2 separate regions of the Homo sapiens genome follow, and region 2 is linked to region 1. The links are contacts of gene promoters, found by promoter capture Hi-C in blood cells and fetal thymus (Javierre and others, 2016). All regions are on one chromosome and are shown on one strand. Each heading gives the region's core, a stretch centred on a gene start or on the middle of the fragment in contact. The rest is flanking DNA. Distances are from core to core; before and after follow the strand shown.

Region 1 (3,849 bases), core at 851-3,350:
GCGCCCAACACCATGCCCGGCTAATTTTTTGCATTTTTAGTAGAGACAAGGTTTCATCATATTAGCCAGGATGGTCTCAATCTCCTGACCTCATGATCTGCCCGCCTCAGCCTCCCACAGTGCTGGGATTACAGGCGTGAGCCTCCGCGCCCGGCTGTCCTTGTGTCACTCTTCTTCACACTTGGGAGTCCCTCTGATGATGCCTGTTGGGCCTGGGCAGCCCCTTTGGCTGAGAGTCAGTACTTTAGAGGATCCCCTTCCCCAGCAGGAATCCTGGGTGCTGAGGGCCCATGAGAAGGAGCTGAGGTCTCCCATTTAATGCAGAGTCTTGCACGCACACACCTGCTCCGTGCCTGCGCAGGGTCCAGCCTCTTCCAAAAGTCCTCCTGTTCTGGGTGGGGAGGGGTCTCAGGGCTCCTGACTTCTTCCATTCTTGCCCAGCCCACCCTAGGAAGAGGGCGTGAGGCTCTCCCAGACACAGGTGGGGGGCCCAGCCTGTGTTCCGCTCCTCCCTGAGGACGGGTCCCAGTGGCCCCACCCGACTGGGTCATCGTGCAGACGGCTGCCTCAGTTTCCCCACCTTCCCCTGCCCGTGGGCTTCCTCGTTGTCTCCTTCCCTCCTGTCACTCAGGCGGGGCAGGGAGGGGCAGACACAAAGGCTTCCTGCGGGTGAGATTGGTGCCGAGCTCTGTGCCCAGCCTGGAGCCTCAGGCCTACCCCAGCCTTCTCCAGCCTCAGAGCCCCCACAGCCTCTGCCCAACACTGCCGTGTGCTCCCCTGTCTCCTGGGCGAGTTCCTTCAAACCCTTGAAAGCCCTCACCTAAGCCGGGCACAGTGGCTCACACCTGTTATCCCAGCACTTTCAGAGGCCGAGGCAGGCGGATCACCTGAGGTCGGGAGTTTGAGACCAGCCTGACCAACATGGAGAAAACCCATCTCTACTAAAAATACAAAAAGTTAGCTGGGCATGGTGGTGGGTGCCTGTAGTCCCAGCTACCTGGGAGGCTGAGGCAGGAGAATCGCTTGAACCTGGGAGGCAGAGGTTGCAGTGAGCCTAGATCGCCCCATTGCACTCCAGCCTGGGCCACAAGAATGAAGCTCCGTCTCAAAAAAAAAAAAAAAGTTCTCACCTCCCAAGCAGCCCCAAGATGGGTTTGTTTGCTGGAGACAGAGGTAGAAAGATCTGTCGAGGAACTGGCTGAAAATTCCTAAGTTGCAACATGGGAAGGTGTTGCTGGAGACAGTGTCCTGGGGGTCGGGCCTGGCACCCAGGGGCGGCCGCAGAGGAACCCTGATGGCAGGTACCAGGCGGCTGCACACAGCCCACAGCTGGGCTCCGGGGTCAGCAGCGGAGACAGAGAAGACCCCTGCTCAGGCCAAGGAGCCCTCCCACCCTCCATTCTTCAGGCAGGCGCCCCACCCAGCAGGCCTGACGCTGCCCCTCCTTCCAGCCGGCACCCAGGCCGAGCTCAGCCACACCTGAAGAGCCGCTCCGGCCAGGGAGGACATGCCCGGCAGAGACAGGGTGCAGAGACAGCCTCGCCCCCACACGGCGCCAGGCCCCACAGCTGCCACAGAGACGGGAGCCAGCCGCACGCAGAGGCTCAAGCCCACGGCCCTGGGAGGCGCCCTTTCCTGGGCAGGGTGGGCCTGACTGCCTGCTCCATCCAAGCACTGGGGCCTCGGGCCGCGCGGAGGTCCCACAGGAGGGTCAGAGCGGCATCTTCCCTTCAGGGCCCTCGCCCGGGCACCCCCCGGCCAATGGACCACAGCTGCACCCGGTTCATCCACCGCCGGGGACCACCCACTCGGACCCGAGCCGGCTTCAAGAGGGGCAAGAGGCCAAGGATCCAGCAGAGGCCTCGGGCTCGAGTCTCAGGTGAATAGAGCAGCCCTGGGTGGCCTCCTACCTCTCCAAGGCCAAGGCCTCCCTGGGACGGGTGCCCCATACCCAAGGAAGTCAGTCGGCCTCATGGGGCAGGGGCAGGATCCACACATGGCCATGCCCCGCTGCTCCGAGAGAGGGGCCAGCTGTGGGCGCCGGGCTCTGCAGGCACAGAGGGGAGCTGTCGCGCTCCGCGGCCCAGGGTTCCGCCTGGCTGGCACCACCCCTGGAAGGGCAGCCCCTCGTCTCCCGGCCTGACAATGGCCCCTTGGGTCACCCATGACATCATCATGGACATTGTGACCCCTGCCCTCCAGGGACCATCCCTGCGTCACGTCTGCACCCAGCACCGGCCTCACAGCCCGGCCCCTGCCCTGCACCAGGCCACTGCCCTGTTGGTGAGGAGGGTCGGAGGGGCGACCTCCCTGCCCCCTGCTCCAAGCTCCCCACCCCCACCTGGAACCTGCCGGCAGGAAGCCTGGCCCTGGAGGGTGGTCACGGCCCCTCCCCAGATGTAAGCAGTCCCCAGGCCGCCTGGTGGGGCCAGAGCTCGGGCTGAACTTGAGCCCCAGACGGGCCAGGGGGATTGTCCAGGGTATTGGAGAAATGGGCTGGGAGCAAACTGGCTGAGCCATGTCCGGGCTGAGTGGGCAGCTCCCGTAGCCACCCCGGTGGGACCCCACCCCGTTCACAGGCCCGGCCCACGAGAGGCCAATGGGGAGCAGCCAGGAGGAGGGACTCCGGTGTCAGCCAAGCCAGCCAGACCACGACGCAGATGGACACTGTGGGCCGGACCTGGAGGGGGCAGAAAGAGCCTCTGCCACACCCGGACCCCCTGGGCTCCTGAACAGCCACCGGCCTGCAGACTCGGATGACACTAACGCCGCCGGGCCCTCAGCTGCCCTCCTGGAGGGGCTCCTGCTGGGGGGTGGGAAGCCATCGCCCCACAGCACCCGGCCGGGGCCCTTCTTCTACATTGGAGGCAGCAACGGGGCCACAATGTGAGTAGCGGCCCTGGGCGCCCGTGGTCCCACTGAATACCCACCGCCTGCTCCCGGGGCCCAGCCCGGCCTCCGCTGGCCGCCCGCCATCCCCAACCCCTTGCCTCGGCCCCCAGGTCACCCCCGCCCCCACCCCTCGCAGCATCAGCTCCTACTGCAAAAGCAAGGGCTGGCAGCGCATCCATGACAGCCGCCGGGACGACTACACGCTGAAGTGGTGTGAGGTCAAGAGCCGAGACAGCTACGGCAGCTTCCGGGAAGGTAGCGGGAGCCGGCACCAGAGGCGGGCAGCCTGCAGGGGCCTCCTGGGCCGGAGCACAGGGCAGGTTGGAGGGGTGGGGACCGAGGTCCTGCGCTCCCTCCACACGAGCCCTGGCCTCTGACCTCCAGGAGAGCAGCTGCTGTACCAGCTTCCCAACAACAAGCTCCTCACCACCAAGATCGGGCTGCTCAGCACCCTTCGGGGACGGGCACGGGCCATGAGCAAGGCCAGCAAGGTGCCGGGGGGGGTCCAGGCCAGGTGAGTCTGCCCCTGCCCCTGCCCCCGTCCCTGCGCCCGCCCCTACGCCTGCCCCTGCCCCTGCCCCTGCACCCGCCCCACCCCTGCCCCTGCGCCCGCCCCTGCCCTTGCCCCTGCCCCTGGCCACCCAGGCTCCCAGGCTGGCTCCAGCCCCTGCCCCTGCCCTTGCCCCTGCCCCTGGCCACCTGGGCTCCCAGGCTGGCCCCAGCCCCCACCCGTCAGCACCTGCCTCCACCTTCCACCTGTCCTTTAAAGGGCCAAACCCCTGTCCCATAAACCCACCCTCTTCCTCGTGGCTGAACGGGGAAGATCCCACACGTCCCCAACCCACTGGGCCTGACACCCACCCACCTGTCCATCTCACAGACCCACCCAGGTACAACCCACCTGTCAATCTGCCTTCACCCCAAACATCCATCCAATCCATCCACAATCCCACACCG
Region 2 (3,787 bases), core at 111-2,610, 170 kb after region 1:
GCCCAGTGGAGAAATAGGAGCCCGGAGACGGGGCTTGGCCTGGCCGCACACCTGGCAGGAAGCGGCCTTGTGGCTGCTAGTCCCACTGCGAGCTACAGAGCCACCCCGACTGGCCGCTCCAGGTCCCCTGACCCCGGGGCACCTTGACTCAGCCAGACTCCGAAGCAGTAGGTAGCAGGAGGCCCCCGGCAAAGTGGCAAACCCACACTCTCACCCAAGCCCTGGCCCACCCACTTGCTGGGAAGAGGCCCCAAGCCTCAGGGCAGAGTGGACAGCAGGCAGGGCCAGCCCAGGTGGGAGCAGGGACCCCTACCTAGCCCTCTGGGGTCCTGCAGCTGCCTCCCCAGGCCACCCAGGGCCAGGCCATGAGGTAGACGCCCCCAAAGAGCAGAGAAGGTCACTTCTCAGACCCCTCCACGTCTGCTGCCCCCACACAGGAGCCTTCCCAGGTAAGACCATGACCCCATGCCAGGCTGAGGCCGCCACAGTGAGAGGCTGTCACACCTGAAAGGCTGGAGCAACCCAGGGTGAGGCGGGCCCCACGGACACCGAGGCCACCACTAGCTGCCGCCAGGGGGCCAGGGCCCACAGTGAGCCCTTGTCTCTAATGGACCTGACCACAGCAGAGCCCCTGGCAGGGTCCCCACCTCAGTCCCTGACACACGGCCCCAGGTGGCCTGGCCGGCAGCTTCTCCCCTGCCACACCCAACCCCAGCACCCTCTGACTCACCTGAGGGAGACACTCAGTCACCCAGCACCCTCTGACTCACCGGAGGGAGACTCGGCCACCCAGCACCCTCTGACTCACTGGAGGGAGACTCGGCCACCCAGCACCCCAGTACAGCACCCGCCTGGCTCCACCGGAAGAGGGCCCTGCCCCCTCCCACCATCCAGAGTGGCCCAAGCCCGCATGGCCCACCCAGCCAGGGCCTCACGAAGACCCCAGGCTGCCTGGGATGTCCCTGCCCCCTGCCCCCTCACAGATGTCCAGCCAGGACCCAGAGGCCCTACTCACTCCGCCCTCTTCAGCCCAACAGGGTGTAACAAGTCCTCCCCTGCCCCCAGTGGCAGGGTGCAGACCCAAGCCTGGCTGGGCCAGGAGAAAGGGAGCAGGACCCAAACAGCACAGAGGGAAGGGTGGGGTCTGCCTGGGGCTCCAGGGATCAGCTACCCAGGTCCCAGGCAGAGCCCTGCCGTCCCCACCCCAGCCAGATGGGGGAGGGTGCTGGAGGCTGGCCAGGCATTGGGGGCGTACCCACAACCCGGGGTCCCCGCGCCTCTGTAGCAGCCTCCGCTGAAACTCACGGCAGCTGCCAGGGGCGCCCCTGCCGGCACTGTGCCCCCACCTTGGGATTCCCTGTGAGGCCTGGCTAACCTGTGTGCTGCCCCCACAGACCCGCCCCGGGGAGGAATCCACTCAGAGGCAGCGCCCTGGGAGCCAGCATGGCCACACAGGATGCAGAGAACCCTCCAGACTCCCAGAGGCCACAGCCAGCTGCCCTAGACGTGGCGTGGTCCCGAATGCACCCCATTCTCCCAAGGCGGAGCAGGAAGCTGGCAGGGGTAGCTGGCCCAGGACAGGCGGTGCAGAGCCATCCTGTGCCCTCAGAGCCCCCTGTGCACGCCCCAGGTCAGGGCCCTCAGCCTTGGGGGTCTGTGGCCTCCCAACCCCTGACCCCAGAGCCAGGGGCTCTCCACCAGCCTGTCCCCTGGGTGGTGCCGAGTCCTGGGATCTCTCTGTGCCCCTCCCCCGGTTCAGGACACACAGGCTCAAGTGTCCCTGCTAGGCCATGGCTATGAGTGCAGTAGGTGAACTGCCTGGACCCTCCCAAAACCAGGGAGGCACTCAGGGCACAGAGAGGCTGAGTCACAGACCCCAAGTGGCACAGCCAGGGAGGGCGGAGTGGGAACTCCCCCCACAGCCCAGGCCAGGCAGAGCCTCCCCAACTCCATAGCTCCCCACAGCACCACCCAGGACACAAGGAGCTGTCACAACACCGAGGCCCATGGCAGGCGGCCCTGGGGACCAGGGCTTTGGGCCCACAGCCTTGCCTCCACCCATCCCCCAGTCCCAGGCCTGGGTCACCCCCACCTCGGAGATGAACTGTGGGAGCTGTGCCCAACAGACAGCCTCGGTGCCAAGTCCAGCAGGCCCAGCATCCGCCACGCACCCAGCAGTGGGGACCCGGAGCCAAACACCCTCCCTCCTCTGCCTCGGCCCAAGGCTGGGCGAGACCCCCTGCCAACCACCAAACCCAGCACCAGGCAGAGACCCTCCCCAATTCTGCCCTCCTCCCAGCCCTGGGGATCTTGGGTCAGAATAGCTGTGACCAGGGCATGAAAAGTGGAGGACAGGCGGGGGACCTTCACCCACTGGGCCAAAGCCGTGCGTGGGGAGTGGGGTCCAGACCAGGGCACGTGGTTGTGGCCATGACACAGGCTCCCTGCACTGCAAGGTGGTCAGTCATGCTCTGGAGCAGAGGCTGGGGAACCAGGGCTGGGCTGAGAATGCAGCGGGGGCTGGCGCAGGAACCCCCGACTCACCAGGGCCTCCTCAGCGTCCCCAGCCTGAAGCTCCCTCTCTTATGAAGGCCACCCCAGACCAGCGAGGACCTGCCTTCTCTTCCCCCCATCTCCAACTACATTCGCTTGGCATCCAGGGTCAGTGTCTAGTTCAGCAGTCGCTTAAGCTAAAGTATTACTGACCAACCAGCCCCTCCCACGGGGGTTCTATTCCACAGAACAGACAGTGCTGAGAGGTCTGCGGGTAGAACTCAGGGGAAGGGATGAAGGAAGTAATTGATGAGGGTCCTCCGTAGGCTCCTGAGGCCACCAGCCAGAGGACCAGGGAGGACACAGAGCAAGGCCCCCATCCCAGCCAGAGGACCTGGGAGGCTACAGAGCAAGGCCCTCGTCTTGGACCTCCAGCATCACCCCAGTCCATTCTTTCCAACCCCCACAGCCCAGCCCAGCCCAGCCCTGACCTCTGCAGCCCCACTGACTCCCAGCCCCCTGTAAGTCTGCAGCCTCCAAAGCTGTACACTGAAGCTCCCCTGTCTCTTTCCTGGCCGCATCCCCAAGCCTGCCTCGACACCCAGACCTGCCCACCCTGTTCCCAGGCCCGGGCACCCACGCGTCCTCCAAATGTGCCCAGCAGGTGCAGCCACTGCTAGAAGTGCACTAGGGCAACAGTCAGGCTGTCTCTGCCCTGGGCAGCCCCCGGTGGGTGTCAGGAGCAGAAGGCGGACTCCCCCAGGGCTTCATCCCAGAGCATGGTCCAGGAGCAGAACCTGGGGGCTGGGCACCTCCTCACTACGCATTTCCTGGTGGCACACATTTGCAACAAACAGCATTAGTAACTTTGGTAACTTTCGTTAGAATAATAAACTAAGTCAAAAACAAAAGTACCTGACACATGCCCCATGCTCAAGGCCAAAGCAGCCCAGGCCCAGAGAAGCAGGGACTGCAAGGTGCCCCAGCTGGGGAGGAGCCCGGACCAGACTCAGAAAACAAACCGCCCCCTCCTGCCCAACCTGACCGGAGCGGGCAGGAGGGCCGCTGAGCCGAGTGGGGAGCGCCCAGCCTTCAAAGGCTGCCAAGGACGCACCCTGCCCTCTCTGCTTTGCCTGGTCGTGGGGGTGGGGAAGGAAAGTACAGCTGTCTAGATGTCCCTTGGGCCCCCCTGAGAGCTCCAGAGCGGACCCAGCCTGACTGGACCTGGGGCTGCCTGAGGACCCTGCAACCACAGAATCCAAGAAACAACCTTAATGTCACAATCCCAAGAAGC

Evidence for each region. Contacts are between HindIII fragments. The CHiCAGO score rates a contact against its expected background, and 5 or more counts as called.
Region 2: a fragment that was not itself captured here is called in contact with the fragment with the promoter of TTLL10-AS1 in region 1 in 1 of 17 cell types (activated CD4 T cells); the score reaches 6.0 in activated CD4 T cells.

The regions. Positions count from the first base shown.
Region 1 is chr1:1,177,455-1,181,303 of GRCh38, forward strand. It overlaps TTLL10-AS1 (TTLL10 antisense RNA 1), which reads right to left and starts at 2,101. Exons shown (of 2, transcript NR_173246.1): 1 at 1,911-2,101. It overlaps TTLL10 (tubulin tyrosine ligase like 10), which reads left to right. Exons shown (of 16, transcript NM_001130045.2): 4 at 1,735-1,879; 5 at 2,203-2,283; 6 at 2,580-2,886; 7 at 3,029-3,147; 8 at 3,277-3,406. The coding sequence starts at 1,762. RefSeq lists an enhancer at 1,717-2,216. The HindIII fragment of the contact is 12,910 bases long and covers 1-3,849 here.
Region 2 is chr1:1,344,228-1,348,014 of GRCh38, forward strand. All of the region lies in intron 1 of DVL1 (dishevelled segment polarity protein 1), which reads right to left. Among named protein-coding and RNA genes, the nearest start is that of DVL1, 3.3 kb to the right of the region's middle. RefSeq lists enhancers at 1,814-2,692, 2,894-3,523, 3,524-3,787 and a silencer at 3,706-3,787. The HindIII fragment of the contact is 5,737 bases long and covers 1-3,787 here.